Linked DNA regions of Homo sapiens: regions 1 and 3 are each linked to region 2. Evidence: promoter capture Hi-C in human tissues and cell types (Jung and others, 2019). All regions are on one chromosome and are shown on one strand. Each heading gives the region's core, a stretch centred on a gene start or on the middle of the fragment in contact. The rest is flanking DNA. Distances are from core to core; before and after follow the strand shown.

The links. Contacts are between HindIII fragments. The study calls those that stand out against the background at their distance.
Region 1: a contact is called between a fragment that was not itself captured here and the fragment with the promoter of SLC1A1 in region 2, in 4 of the 25 tissues and cell types used here (H1 embryonic stem cells, dorsolateral prefrontal cortex, hippocampus and 1 more).
Region 3: a fragment that was not itself captured here is called in contact with the fragment with the promoter of SLC1A1 in region 2 in 1 of the 25 tissues and cell types used here (lymphoblastoid cells).

What each region holds. Positions count from the first base shown.
Region 1 is chr9:4,541,078-4,545,741 of GRCh38, reverse strand. It overlaps SLC1A1 (solute carrier family 1 member 1), which reads right to left. Exons shown (of 12, transcript NM_004170.6): 2 at 1,035-1,175. Among named protein-coding and RNA genes, the nearest start is that of SLC1A1, 53 kb to the right of the region's middle. The HindIII fragment of the contact is 3,105 bases long and covers 1,006-4,110 here.
Region 2 is chr9:4,488,239-4,493,051 of GRCh38, reverse strand. It overlaps SLC1A1 (solute carrier family 1 member 1), which reads right to left and starts at 2,584. Exons shown (of 12, transcript NM_004170.6): 1 at 2,282-2,584. The coding sequence starts at 2,372. It also overlaps a transcript of GLIS3 not described here. RefSeq lists a silencer at 2,357-2,786 and an enhancer at 2,937-2,986. The HindIII fragment of the contact is 11,033 bases long and covers 1-4,813 here.
Region 3 is chr9:4,436,925-4,441,609 of GRCh38, reverse strand. It overlaps a transcript of GLIS3 not described here. Among named protein-coding and RNA genes, the nearest start is that of SLC1A1, 51 kb to the left of the region's middle. The HindIII fragment of the contact is 6,103 bases long and covers 1-4,304 here.

The DNA.
Region 1 (4,664 bases), core at 1,309-3,808, 53 kb before region 2:
ATTTCCAAATGCAACTGTGTCACAAGTTTTAAAAATACTAGGCTTTTCGAATATGGTGCACTTCCATATTTAAACCCTTCTCACAGAACTTGACTGCTGGTCCCCACAGCAAATATGCAGGGCAGACACATAGCAAGTTCTGGCTTTGAGTAGAAAGTGGGTAAGGAGTGCAGAGACCCTGAAGGCAGCTGCTGAGAGGCTGGGGGCAGCACAGCTGCAGTTGGGAAATAAATGAGTGAATGGCTGAAAACATGATCAAAATTGACAACTATATTTTTCCTGAGGACACTAGCTGACATTTCAGTGACCAAATATGCTTTTTTTTCCCATGCCCCAGATAACGTTTTGTTTATATGTTTGAAAATGACATTTTCCTCCCAAGACATCACATGCTGGTCAAATGAAGATTTGAGCAGTGGTGGACAGAGCTGTAGGCACAGCATATGACAAAGCAATGCCATGTTGAGAACAGTAAAATGTTTCCACAGAAGCAAATATAGACATTCCAAGTGGAGAGAGGTGGAGAGAGAGAGAGAGAGAGAGAGAGAGAGACATCTAATGTATTTCAATTTTTCCCGTAATTAGAAAAGAACAACTTAGGTGAAAGCTTTTTAAATAATCATAGAGAATGACATGGTTAGGCTTTGTGTTCCCACCCAAATCTCATCTTGAATTGTAATCCCCATAATCCCCAGGTGTCAAGGGAGAGACCAGGTGGAGGTAATTGAATCATAGTGGCAGTTTCTCCCATGCTGTTCTCGTGATAGTGAGTGAGTTCTCACGAGATCTTATGGTTTTATAACGGGCTCTTCCTGCTTCGCCCAGCCTTTCTCCTTCCTGCCACCTTGTGAAGGAGGTTGTCTTGCTTCCCCTTTGCCTTCCGCCATGATTGTGAGTTTCCTGAGACCTTCTGAGCCAGGATGAACTGTGAGTCAATTAAACCTCTTTCCTTTATAAATTACCTAGTCTCAGGAAGTTCTTTACAGCAGTATGAAAATGGACTAATATAGAGAACATCTGTTTTCTCAAGGTACCTGTAATCATGCTGGATATAATTAATGGCAAAATGATGAGTTTCAGCATCCGCATTAGAATTTCTCCAGGAAAAGCAAAGTAGAATTTCTCTAGAGTTGAGAGGTTGCTGTGTTCTCGAACCAAGACTCCTGTGGTAATGCCTAAGGAAAACAAGAGTTGGAAAGAAGGAAGAGGAACATTATTGAGTTCTCCTGTATCTATGTCTATGGAAAAATACTCCCAAATGCACATTTTAATGGCAAGAAAAATAGTTTAGATCATTTCCCATGAGTCTGTAAAATCTAGACTGAAATTATATTTTAAAAGACAGTGAACAGAAAGTACACATTATTCAGTAAATCTGTAAAAAGTATTCTATACATGAAAGCTTTGTTGTCATTTCTTCGCTATCAATTACACTTATTATGACAAAATATCAAAGAATACTGTGAGAAAAAAAATCATCTTAGTCAATCCAGTATAACTCTTTTGCATTCACACACCACCTTTTTCTACCTGCAGAGATATTTTACATATTTTATTATTTTTATTGAGACAGGGTCTCACTCTGTCACCCAGCCTAGAGTACAGTGGTACCATCTCGGCTCACTGCAGCCTCAACCTTCCAGGCTCAGTCGATCCTCCCACCTCAGCCTCCCGAGTAGCTAGGACTATATGCGCACCACCATGTCCAGCTAATTTTTGTATTTTTTTCTTGAGAGGGTTTCATTCGGTTGCCCAGGCTGGTCTCGAACTCCTGGCCTCAAGTGATCTGCCCACCTCGACTTCCGAAAGTGCTGGGATTACAGGTGTGAACCACCATGCTTGGCTATTTTACATATTTTATAGTTTACATATCAGTTTGTATTTTTCTCATATTTTTATTATAAGTACTTTTTATGGTATATTTGTATAATCTTTCCTGTTTATGCAACTTTTATAATTTTAATAGGAATATAATAGCCTATTGATTTATTTACCATATTATCAAATGACTGTTCTCTAATGTTTTGCACTCTTTTCAGTTATTTCTAGATAATGATATATTCAGGTTTATCTGATTAAAAGGCTTTTTACAAAGTTTCTGATTTTGAGTACCTTGTACATGAAGTCTTATAATTATGTGAGTGTAGGGACATGTTCACTATTAAGAAATGTTACCATTCTCTGAAAGCTTTTCCTTAACAAGATGCCCATATTGAAATCCTTCAGTTGTATGGATAACACAATTTAATGATGACTTTAATAACTAAAAATCACAAATTTTTATTTCTATTCTCTTCCAAGTATTTCTAATAACATCTAACTGCTTTACCCTTTCCTTCTCCCAATATACACACTCTTATTTTAAGGCAGAAAAATAAATGGGATGACTTTTGCATCTTTTTTCCTTCATCGGCCTCTGTTGGATGTCATGATATTTGGAAGTAAAATGACTAAGTGGCAGAAAGATTCAAGGAGGATATCACTGGTATGTGAACCTAAAAACTCAAGTAATTAGTTTGTGAATACCAAGACTTATTTGGGCACAATTAAAAACTCTAGGGCAATGAAAGAATATGTGAATTATAATCAGTACTAGAATTTTCATTTAAATTCAGGCATCCTTCCCATGCCCACTAGTAGACCAAATAGATGAACCTCACAAGATGCATTTTGTATACTAACCTTATCCTTAGCTTAATTTTATTTCCCTATTCTACCTTTGCCTTGATCTCTATTTTGTGCATGCACTACTGGATGCATTTCTGGTGATTCAGTAGTGTTTACACACTACTGCATTGTGAATACACAATTTTAAATCATTTTTGGAACAAACATATAAACATTTCCCAAATTGTAGCTAAGACAAAGATGAAACAAAACTCTATTATCAATGCTATTTGGTTTCTATTTTACAACCCTAGTGTTAGAGACTCTTGAATGGATAAGAACACCAAGAATTCAAAGTATTTTAAATAAATTTAAAAAGTACGATGTGCTCACTTCCTGCTTTATAAACTGCCTGTGTTCAGCTGTTCTATATGAACATACCTATATTATGCCCTAAGGATACGCTGTAATTCCCAGGACTTTAAAAAACAAATATTCTCTCTCATACTATTCAGGTTGCTTCAAGTAAATTTTTGGCTTGTATGTCAAAGAAAGCTCAGTATGTAAAAAATAAAGATGTGTCTGTACTCAAACACTAGCCACACAAGGACTCTGTTGAATAGCAAGAGAAACCCATGTGCCCCAATCTCAGGGCTTATATTACTAATGATTAACTGTGCCTCTAATTATCTCTATGCTAAATTAATGTAGGGTCATTAGAAAGATATGTACTTGCTATTTTTCAGCCTTTAGCCAGATACAGGATTTTTTTAAAGGGAGAAATAAGAGTTGCCAGGTACAGTAGCTTGAAAGCAATAAAAGGTGACATGTACCCCAAGTAGGTTACTGTATTTGGCAATTACAACTTTCTATCAAGCTTGTTCTTGAAATTGAGTGCCACAAATTGTACTCCAATATTCCTTCCTTCCTTCCTCCCTCCCTCCGTGTCTCTCCCTTTCCTTTTCCCCTCCCCTCTCCTTTCCTTTCTAAAAAGAAGAATAGAAATACCAATCTAGTGCTGGAAATGAAGTTGGGATGTCACACTGAGACCCTCAAATACAAGAAATGGCTAGTGAATGACCTCACCTAGGAGTTATGCCTTGTAAATTGGTGTGCTTTATCTTGGTCTCAAGCAGTTTAGAAACAGCAGATTCGGGATGAGGAAAATCACCAGAAGATTTTCCAGGTCCCAAGAAGAGGTCAGAGTCTCATAGGGCATAACCTTTCTTTACCCATTAACAGAGTCAGAACCTTGGGCTGGATTAAGAATTATGGAGAGGTTCCCAAAGCCAAAGGCTGCTAGGAATAACTGCCCTTCTGGGAGTACGCAGGCCAGGCCCACCTGGTAAGGCCACTCCCAGAACTAAGAAAGGTAAAGATTGTGAAAATAAATAATTGAAAATCTCAGCCGTTGAAACTTTATTTTGAGCCTTAAGGGAATGTGATTATGGAACCTGAGTCACATAAATAGGCAGCTGTAACCTTTGTTTCTCTGATTATAGATTAGCCTTTTCCTTACCTACATTGTTTGGTAAAGTGTTATAAATTACTAAAGGGTGCCAGGGAAGACCCTTTCTCTCTAAGTATGGATCTTCATTATAGACTAGCCTCCCTCTTTCCTCTTTCACACAAAGGCTTCATGGTTATCACACTAACTAGGATGGAATGTTAAATACTTGCTTTTAAATTGGAAAGGAAACGAAAACAAGCTGTATGGAAAAGAAAACAAACGAACTAAATTGTCACTCATAAACCAGGCTTGTATAGAAAATATTATAATCCTACTAAACTTCTTTGTTTGCTGTATAGAAGCAAGTACTTAACTTTTAACTTCGAAGCACTGACCCCATTTCTCTAGAGTCCATGATTCTTGGATGGCTATTCCCAGCTTTTTGCTTGAATAAACTCTTTAAAACTGGATTCTGATCCTTTTGATTATTTCAGGTTGACAAGATCAACAATTTCCCTGAACGGTGTAGCAGGAAGGACTTCAGCAGAGCCAACAAGGAATTCTCAAAAGTAAACTAAGTACCTGGACCCCCAAAGCCCCAGCAATG
Region 2 (4,813 bases), core at 1,335-3,834:
GTCTGCAAAATGAGCATGTACTTCTTCTTATTCACGCAACTGATTCCAAAGGCCAGGGAACAATTGCTTAAAACCTTCTCCAAACCAGTCTCCAGTGAATCGCATGCTGACGAGTGGTGTGCAACACTTGGGTAGCAAGTGAGTATCTCTGGAGAGCCCCATGCTGAAAAGGCAGGATAACTCCACTTCCACAGGGAATCAGGAGGGAGACTCAAGCCAATGTTTATCCTGCAAAGTCTTTTTTTTTTTTCTTTTTAGACAAGGTCTCATTCTTGTTGCCCAGGCTGGAGTGCAGAGTCACGATCACGGCTCACTGCAGCCTCGACCTCCCTGGGCTCAGGTGATCCTCCCACCTCAGTCTCCTGAGTAGCTAGGACTACAGATGTGCACCACCACGCTAATTTTTGTACTTTTTTGTAGAGATGGCATTTTGCCATGTTGCCCAGGCTGGTCTCCAACTCCTGGGCTCAAGCAATCCTCCTTCCTTGGCCTCCCAAAATATTGGGATTATAGGTGTGAGTCACCGTGCCTGGCCCTCTAAAAGTCCTTTTCCTTTTTTTTTTTTTTTTTTTGGTGGATTCTTGCTCTGTCACCCAGGCGGGAGTGCAGTGGCACAATCTTGGCTGACTTCAACCTCTGCCTTCTGGGTTCAAGCAATTCTCCTGCCTCAGCCTCCCGAGTAACTGGGGTTATAGGCATGAGCCACCTTGCCCTGGCATCTCTCAGTCTTCAAAAAGAGATTTAACAATTAATCCTCGACTCTTATCACTAGGAAAACAAACAAGGCCATCTCTTCTCTTTGGCCTAAAGGAAATCAAGTCGTTCTTTGTAGCGTATGCTATTTAAATATGGTAGAGTAGGATAAACTTTCCCTTAAAAATGTTCAAAACCGAAAAAAAAAAGTTCCAAAACCACTTGGCACTTCTTGGGGGAAATAGTCAAGATTTGCTTCTGTACTTCTCTCCTTTCCTCCTACAAATAGCCTCTGCTAGGGCCATTCCAGGATGTTATTTATTTACTAGAAACCTGACTTTCCTTTCCCCAAGGTTCTGGAGAATCCAATCTGACCCCAAGAATCCCATTAACTTCCAAAGGCCATTTCCATGCCCTATCCCCACCCTGAGGGGAGGGGGCGGTTCGGAGGAGAAGCAAGCAACACCATATATTCTGAGATTTAGGAGCAGCAGTTGGAGAGGAAGGTACCTGAGGTTGGGAGGAAACAAGCTGTCCCCACTTGCCTTTTCAGCAAACACAGCTGCAGTTTCCAAGGGGAAGGTGGAGCCTGCCGAGGAATCCACATTCCTCAGAGGGTGCAACAGCCCTCACCTGCTGAGGAGCTATCACTGGGAAGGCGACAGATATGGCGCTAATCCCAAGGAAGTGCATCCCCGGGCCGGAGCTAGAAACACACAACCTTGGTAAAAAATCAGAATCTAAATAGGAATAACTCATACCTCTGAGCAATGGCTCAGACATCCACCTGGTCCAGTGATCTGTGAGGGGTGGATCACTTAAATACACCCTTGTTTAAAAACAGGCAAGGATGGCTTAAACATTATCTTAAATACAAAAACAACGTGGAGAGCAAGGAAGGCAGGAGAAGAGACGGCTGAGTTCTCTTAGCTCTCTTCCCCGGTGACCTCCCGCGGGCCACAGTGGCACATCCCAGAATTCAGGCACGAATCTGGCAGCTTTTCAGAGCCCGGGTGCAGGCAGTCGGCGCTCGCCGCGTGGGAAGGCACCTTTCCACGCACTGCCCAGGATGAGCGGCGACAGCGTTCTCAGCCTCCCTCCCCTAAGGGTCCGGCCCATCCCGGAGGCCAGGGTGCCTCTTCCAATTCGACTGAGAACTGTAATCCACACTCAATCTCTGCCCGCGCAGCGAGGCTGGGGGTGTGGGGTGAGGAAGGTGGCGGTGATAGGGGGAGATACGGTGCGGGATTAACAAAGAAAAAAATCGAACCCTGTTTTCAAACGAGCAGAACCAAGAGCTACTTGCTTCCCTTTCTACCCCCAAGCCCCTTTGATCATTTTGGGTAGAGCAGGAACCAGCAGCTCAAGGAGCACTCAAATGGGAGTCCCAGAGGAGCTTTGTTCTTGGTGTGCAGTAATTAGAGCGCTTGGGGGAAAGCCCCCGCAGGGGGCCCGAGGCTAAGGCCGAGGGGGCATCGAGGGACCCTGCATGGAGTGCGCCAGCGCCAAGCCCACCCTCAGCCGCACGCGGCCTGGGCGCAGAGAGCGCGTGAGGGTGCGCGCATCGCCCACCCGCCGCGCCGCTCACCTAGCACCACCGCGGCCACGGTGGACAGCAACACCCAGTTATTCTTCAGGAAGCGCTTCCACTCGCATCCTTTCCTCGCCGGTTTCCCCATGGCTGTCGCCGCTATTGTGCGCTGGGCTCGGCCGTGCGCGCGTGGGCTGGGCGACCCGGGGACTGCTGGCTGCTCGGCGGCGCGGCGAGATGCGGGTGCACAGGGGAGAGGTGAGAGCCGGCCGCTGCAGTCGCCGCCGTCACCACCGCCGTTGCCGCCGCCACCCGGGATCGCGCACCGCGCCCGCCGCCCTGCCAGCCCGGTAGTTTTGCGTGGCAGGCGCGCCCGGCTCCTCCTGCTGCCGCCGCGCTCTGCGGCGCCTGGGCCAACCAGCGAGGAAGGAGGGAGGAGCGGCAGGCCCGGGAAGGAGGGTGGGTGCGTGCGTGGGACGCCCGGGGTCCCTAGGGAGCAGGCGTGGTAGGGCGCCCAGCGCTGCGGCAGGAGCTGGGGCGGCCTCTCCGGGAACCCTGAGTCCCGCCCCACAGCCTTCCACTGGAGTCTGTCTCGCTTTCCACGCCTCACTCATGCTAGGGCTTTGGGTTAAGGGTTTTCTTCTGTCCCTAACCCAGAGAGGCGGAGCCACTGCCCTCCTGGGCGCGGACTTCATCCTGCACGTCTCCCTCTCCGTTCTCCACACCAGCTATTTCCAGCGCCGGCACCTGCAGAACGGGTGCCCTTTCAAGTCGGGGGAAGCTGATCCTGCCTTGGGTCCCTCTTGCTCGGCTACTCAGGCTGGGATGTGCCAGCAGCCGCGAAAGCCTGAAGCTTCTGGGAGGAGAGAAAGGAGTCCTGGGGCAGAACATGGCTTTGGAAACTTTCACGCGGAGCCTCCAGTGCCCCCACAGGGATTATTCTCCTCTTCGAGTCGCTGGAGGTGATTTGTCTGTGGACACTGGGCTTGGGAGTGTTCCCTGCACAAGGAGATGGTGATTTCTCTTAGAACTTTACTTCTGCTCCTTGGGACTTGCTCTGTGACCACAGGCCCTGGAGCATGGAGGCTTGGGGCAGTGATTAGAACTGAGAACCGGACCCGGGAGCCGCTCTGGGGAGAAAGTGGGCGGTCCATCCCCTAAGGTCCAACGGATTGGAAAGGCAAACACAGGAGAAACTAGGTTAGTGGTGCCAAATATATTTGGTGTTGCTAAGTGAATTTCTGATGCTCTTCCATTTTTCTACCCAATTTTTTCACTCTCACGTATACAATCTCTTTCCCTCCCTTTACCAAATCAGTACCTCCGCAGCTGTAAGCGGTCTTCTTATCAGCGTTCCTAAAGTTAAGTGAGCCTGGAACCCTTTTTGCTATTGTAGAATCTACTCTGATTGTGGGTAGGGAGAATTTCCCCTACTAGATTTTCTGATGACTAAATCCCCACAATTAGAGCTTCATCCCTTTGGTGTAAATTGATACAAGCATCTTTTAAGCGATAATAGATTAAGATTTACAACCCTGTAGACTTTAGTATGAATGAGTTTATCAGCTCTTTATAGAAAGTAAACTTTGAGAGAAAGAAGGTTAGAGGGATTTTAAGGTCGTTGGGTGTCCGAGGAAGATCTGAAGAAATGTCAGAAGGGGACCCGGGTGCGGTGGCTCTTGCCTGTAATCTCAGGACTTTGGGAGTCCGAGGCGAGCGGATCACGAGGTCAGGAGATTGAGACCATCCTGGCTAACACAGTGAAACCCCGTCTCTGCTAAAAATACAAAAAAATTAGCCGGGCGTGGTGGCACGTGCCTGTAGTCGCAGCTACTTGGGAGGCTGAGGGAGGAGAATCGCTTGAACCTGGAAGGTGGAGATTGCAGTAAGCTGAGATCAAGCCACTGCGCTCCAGCCTAGGCGACAGAGCGAGACTGTCAAAAAAAAAGAAAAAAGAAAGAAAGAAGGAAGGAAATGTCAGAAGGGAAACTATCAAGAAAGGGAGAATAGTCCCGGGCGCGATGGCTCACACCTGTAATTCCAGCAATTTGGGAGGCCAAGGCAGGCGGATCACTTGAGGTCAAGAGTTCGAGACCAGCCTGGCCAACATGGGGAAATCCCGTCTACCAAAAATACAAAAATTAGCCGGGTTTAGGGCCATGCACCTGTAATCCCAGCTATTCGGGAGGCTGAGACAGGAGAATCACTTGAACCCAGGAGGTGGAGGTTGCGGTGAGCCGAGATCACGCTGCAGCACTCCTGCCTGGGCGACCGGAGGGAAACCCTGTCTCATAAAAAAAAAAGAGAGAGAGCGTGCGCGAGAGAACAGATTTGTCCCACAGTAAAAAAACAGCTGGAAAAAACGCAAATGTCCAACATAAATGGAATGGTAAATATATTATGGAACTGCCAAGCAACAGTACCTTATGCAGCCTACATAAAGGAAGTTTATGAAGTTTTTAACAGCATGGGATGGCACATGTTATAAATCTATATTTATAAATATAAAGGGAAGAAAGAAATACTAAAATTGCATGTACAATTTGATCACATGTGTGTAAAATAAACATATTGGCCAGGTGCAGTGGC
Region 3 (4,685 bases), core at 4-2,503, 50 kb after region 2:
GAAAAGAAAACTACTAGTCAATATCCCTGATGAACTTAGACACAAAAATCCTCAACAAAACACTAGCAAATCAAATTTAACAACACTTTGAGAAGATTATTTACCATCTTCAAGTGAGATCAAGATGAATCCACTCCAGGCAAATGAGGATGGTTCAATATATGCAAATCAATAAATGTGATTCATTAACAAAATGAAGGACAAAAACCAAGATGTAGAAAAAGCATTTGACGAAATTCAACATCACTTAATCATAAAAACTAACAATAAATTAGGTATAGAAGGAATGTGCCTCAACACAATAAAAGCCATGTATGACAGACCCACAACTAACATCATATTGAATAAGAAAAAGCTGAAAGCTTTTATGGTAAGATTTGGATAAGGCAAAGATGCCCATTTCTTACCACTTTTACTCAGCATAATACTAGAAGTCTTAGCCAGAGTAGCTAGGCAAGATAGAAAAATAAAAGGTATCCAAATTGGAAAGGAGGAAGTAAAATTATCCGTGTTGGCAGATAACATGATCTTACATACAGAAAACCCTAAAGACTGTGCCAAAAAGCTGTTAGAACTAATAAATGAATTTAGTAAAGTTGCAGGATACAAAATCAACACACAAAAATCAGGAGTGTTCCTATATGCTAATAGCAAACTATCTGAAAAAAAAATTAAGAAAACAGTTCTATTTATAATAACTACCAAAAATAACTAGAAATAAATTTAACCAAGGAAGTGAAAGATCTTTACAATGAAAACTACAAAAAAACTGATGAAAGAAATTGAAGAAGACACAAGTAAATGAAAAGATATCCTGTGTGCATGAATTAGAAGAATTAATATAGTTAAAATGTCCATATTACCTGAAGTGATCTACAAAATCAATGCAACCCCTGTCAAAATACCAATGACATTTTTCATGGAAATAGAAAATCCTAAAATTTGAATGGAACCACAGAAACCTTGAATAGTCAAAGCAATTCTGACCAAAAAGAACAAAGCTGAACAAAGGTGTAACACTACCTGATTTAAAAATATACAACAAAGCTAAAATAACCAATAAAAACAGACAAACTAATGGAACAGAATAGAGAGCCCAGAAATAAATCCACAATTTACAGCCAACTGATGATATTCATCAAAGGTGCTACGAACACATTTTGGGAAAGGTCAGTCTTTTCCATAAATTGTGTTGAGAAAACAGGATATCCACAGGCAGAAGAAGGGAACTAGACCCTTATATAAAAAATGAACTCAAAATGGATTACAGACTTAAGTCTAAGACCCCAAATGATGAAACTACTATAAGAAAACATTGGAGAAATGCTTCATGACATGGGTATGGGCAAATATTTTTTTGGATAAGACCTCAAAATCACAGGCAACAAAAGCAATATTGGAAAAATGGGATTACAACAAACTAAAAAACTTCTGCACAGCAAAGAAACAATTAGCAGAGTAAAGAGACAACTTATAGACTGGAAGAAAATATTTGAAAACTACACGTCTGACAAGAGGTTGATATCCAAAATATAAAAGGAACTCAAACAACTCAATAGCAAGAAAACAAACCTATTACAAAATGGGCGAAAGACTTGAATAGACACTTCTCAAAAGAAGACATGTAGGCTGGGCACGGTGGCTCATGCCTGTAATCCCAGCATTTTGAAAGGCTGAGGTAGGCAGATTGCTTGAGCACAGGAGTTCAAGACCAGCCTGGGCAACAGGGTGAAACCTTTTCTCTGCAAAAGAACCCCACAAAAATTAGCCTGGTGTGGTAGGGTGTTCCTGTAATCCCAGCTGTTTGAGAGGCTGAGGTAGGAGGATCACCTGAGTTGGGAAGGTTCCCAAATATGAAAAATGAAAAACTAATTACACCACTGCTCTCCAGCCTGGACAACAGAGTGAGACTCTGTCTCAAAAAGAACAAAAACCAAAAACAACTGCATAATCTCTCATGTGAAATCTAAACAAGCTGATCTCATAGAAGGAGAGAGTAGAATGGTGTTTACCAGAAACTGGGGTGGTTATGAAAGAGAAGATGAGGAGATGTTGGTCAAAGGATATATAATCAATCACAGATAGAAGGCAGGAGGAAAAAATTTTTGCCCAGAATAGGCAAACATATAGAAACAGAAACCAGACAAGTGAGTGCCTGTGGCCAGGAGGTACTGGGGAGAAGATAGGAGGAGAAGAAGAGAAATGGGGAAATTACTGCTAATGGTTGTGGAGTTTATTGGATGAGGAAAACGTTCTAAAATTGATCGTGGAGATGGCTGCACAACTCTGTGAACATACTAAAAACATTGGAGTGTGCATTTTAAGTGTGTGAATTGTATGATACGTGAATTATATCTCAATAAACATTTTAAAAATAGAAATCTTGGAAAATAGAAAAAATTATGGCTTTTGGAATACAAAAATTTTATACTTACAGGGATGATTAGGGAATTGGAAGGTAGTACTGAAGAATGCCCTCAGCATGCAGCACAGAGAGAGAAAGGGGTAAAACATGAAAGCGTGTTGAAGAGACAACAGATGCTAGGTGGTGAGGAACCAACATTGGCCATTATATTTTGATGGCACATTATAACCCCATGTCTGTGATTCTTAAAAGTTGGTCAAACAGTGCTATATTTGAAGAAAATTGACTTATAGAGTAGGATTATACAAAACATGTGTATTAGTCTGTTCTCACGCTGCTAATAAAGACATACCTAGGACTAGGTAATTTATAAAGGAAAGAGGTTTAATAGACTCACAGTTCCATGTGGTTGGGGAGTTCTCACAATTATGTCAGAAAGGGAAGGGGAAGCAAGACACGTCCTACATGGCGGCAGGCAAGAGAGAGCTTGTGCAGAACTCTCATTTATAGAACAATCAGATCTTGTGAGACTTATTCACTACCATGAGAACAGCATGGGGAACCTGCTTGCATGACTCAATTATCTTCACCTGTCCCTGCCCTTGACAAGTGGGGATTATTACAATTCAAGGTGAGATTTGGGTGAGGACACAGCCAAACCATGTCAACATGCAAAGTAATGAAAAACACCAGATTCAGGATAAGCTATTTCTTCTGATGTGGGTTGAGAGTGCAGGTGAGAAAATCTTCACACTGCCACCATCTCATCATCCCTTTGACTTGTCTCACCCTCCTTAGAAAAATAATCACGGGGTGGGGAAGCTTCTCTGGGACATGAACAAATGAAGTCTATTTGTCATTTTGCCTTTAATTGCTTTTAATTAGTATAAACTTCATTACTAAAACATTTTAGCTATATCTGCGATTTTTTCTTTAGATATTACATATGTAAACAAAATATCACAAAACATTAAGATTCATTGGGGTGGCATGAGGGTACCTGAACATTCATTACTTTAGCCTCATTATTATACTTTTTTGTAGAAGGGAAATATTTTATTTGAAAATAAATTTCCAAAATTCAAAAGAAGCCATTTATTTAGCATAAGTGTTCAGAGCACTGGTTCTGGAGTTAGGTTTCTTGGGTTATTTCCTAACTTCTCAACTACAGCTGACCATTGAAAAACATAGGAAGTTAGAGGCACCAATCCCTTATACAGTCAAAAATCCACATATAACTTTTGACTCCCTGAGAACTTAACTATGAATAGCCCACTGTTGAACAGAAGCCTTGTTAGTAACATAAACAGTCAATTAACACATATTTTCTATGCTATATGTATTATATGCTGTATCCTTCAATAGAGTAACTAAGAAAATATTATTAAGAAAATCGTAAGAAAGAGAAATATATTTACTATTCATTAAGAAGTGGATCATCTTAAAGGTCCTCACCCTCATTGTCTTCACAACAAGTAGGCTGAGGAAGAGGAGGAAGAGGTGGGTTTGGTCTTGCTATTTCAGAGGTGGCAGAGGGAGAAGTGGAGGAGGTGGAAGGGAAGGCAGGCACACTTGGTATAACTTTTATTGAAAAAAATCTGCGTATAAGTAGACCTAGGCTCTTCAAGCCCATGTTGTTCAGAGGTCAACTAAGATAGTTTTGCGACTTTGGGCCAGCTGCCAAATCTCTCGCTATGCCACAGTTTTGTCCTCTGTAAAATGGATGTCATTATGGTGCCTAATTCTTAGAGGTAATTGAGGATTAAATGATATATAGATAGATAGATAGATAGATAGATAGATAGATAGATAGATAGATAGATACATACATACATACATACAGTCAAATACCTAGAAAATTTAGAAAATATGAATATGTAAAAAGAATAAAACAATCTCATTCAAATCATACAAATATTTTGATGGTTAAAGCTGCTGTCTTTTATTTCCTTGTGGTTTTGCATATAAATATAATGAATCCAAGACCCTCATGCAGTTGGGGGTCCAGCAATCAAAAGTAGTATTTAAAGATCTCAAATTCTTCATTGCCACTTCTCCAAAACCATGAAAGGATTCAAATACACTTTCATAGTAACGATTCAGGTGAGAAAATCTTCACACTGCCACTGTCTCCTCTTCTTCTGTCCTCTTCTATCCTATTTCCTCATACCCTGATGCTGTTCCACACCTTCTAGAAAATTCTTCCTCTTCTCCAGCTCAAGATACCTTCTCTCTATACTTCTACTGCAGCTCTTTATTATGTGGATTTAGTTGCTCTTTTGGTGGAAGTCTTGCTCCTTTTTCTTCCTCTTTAGTTCCT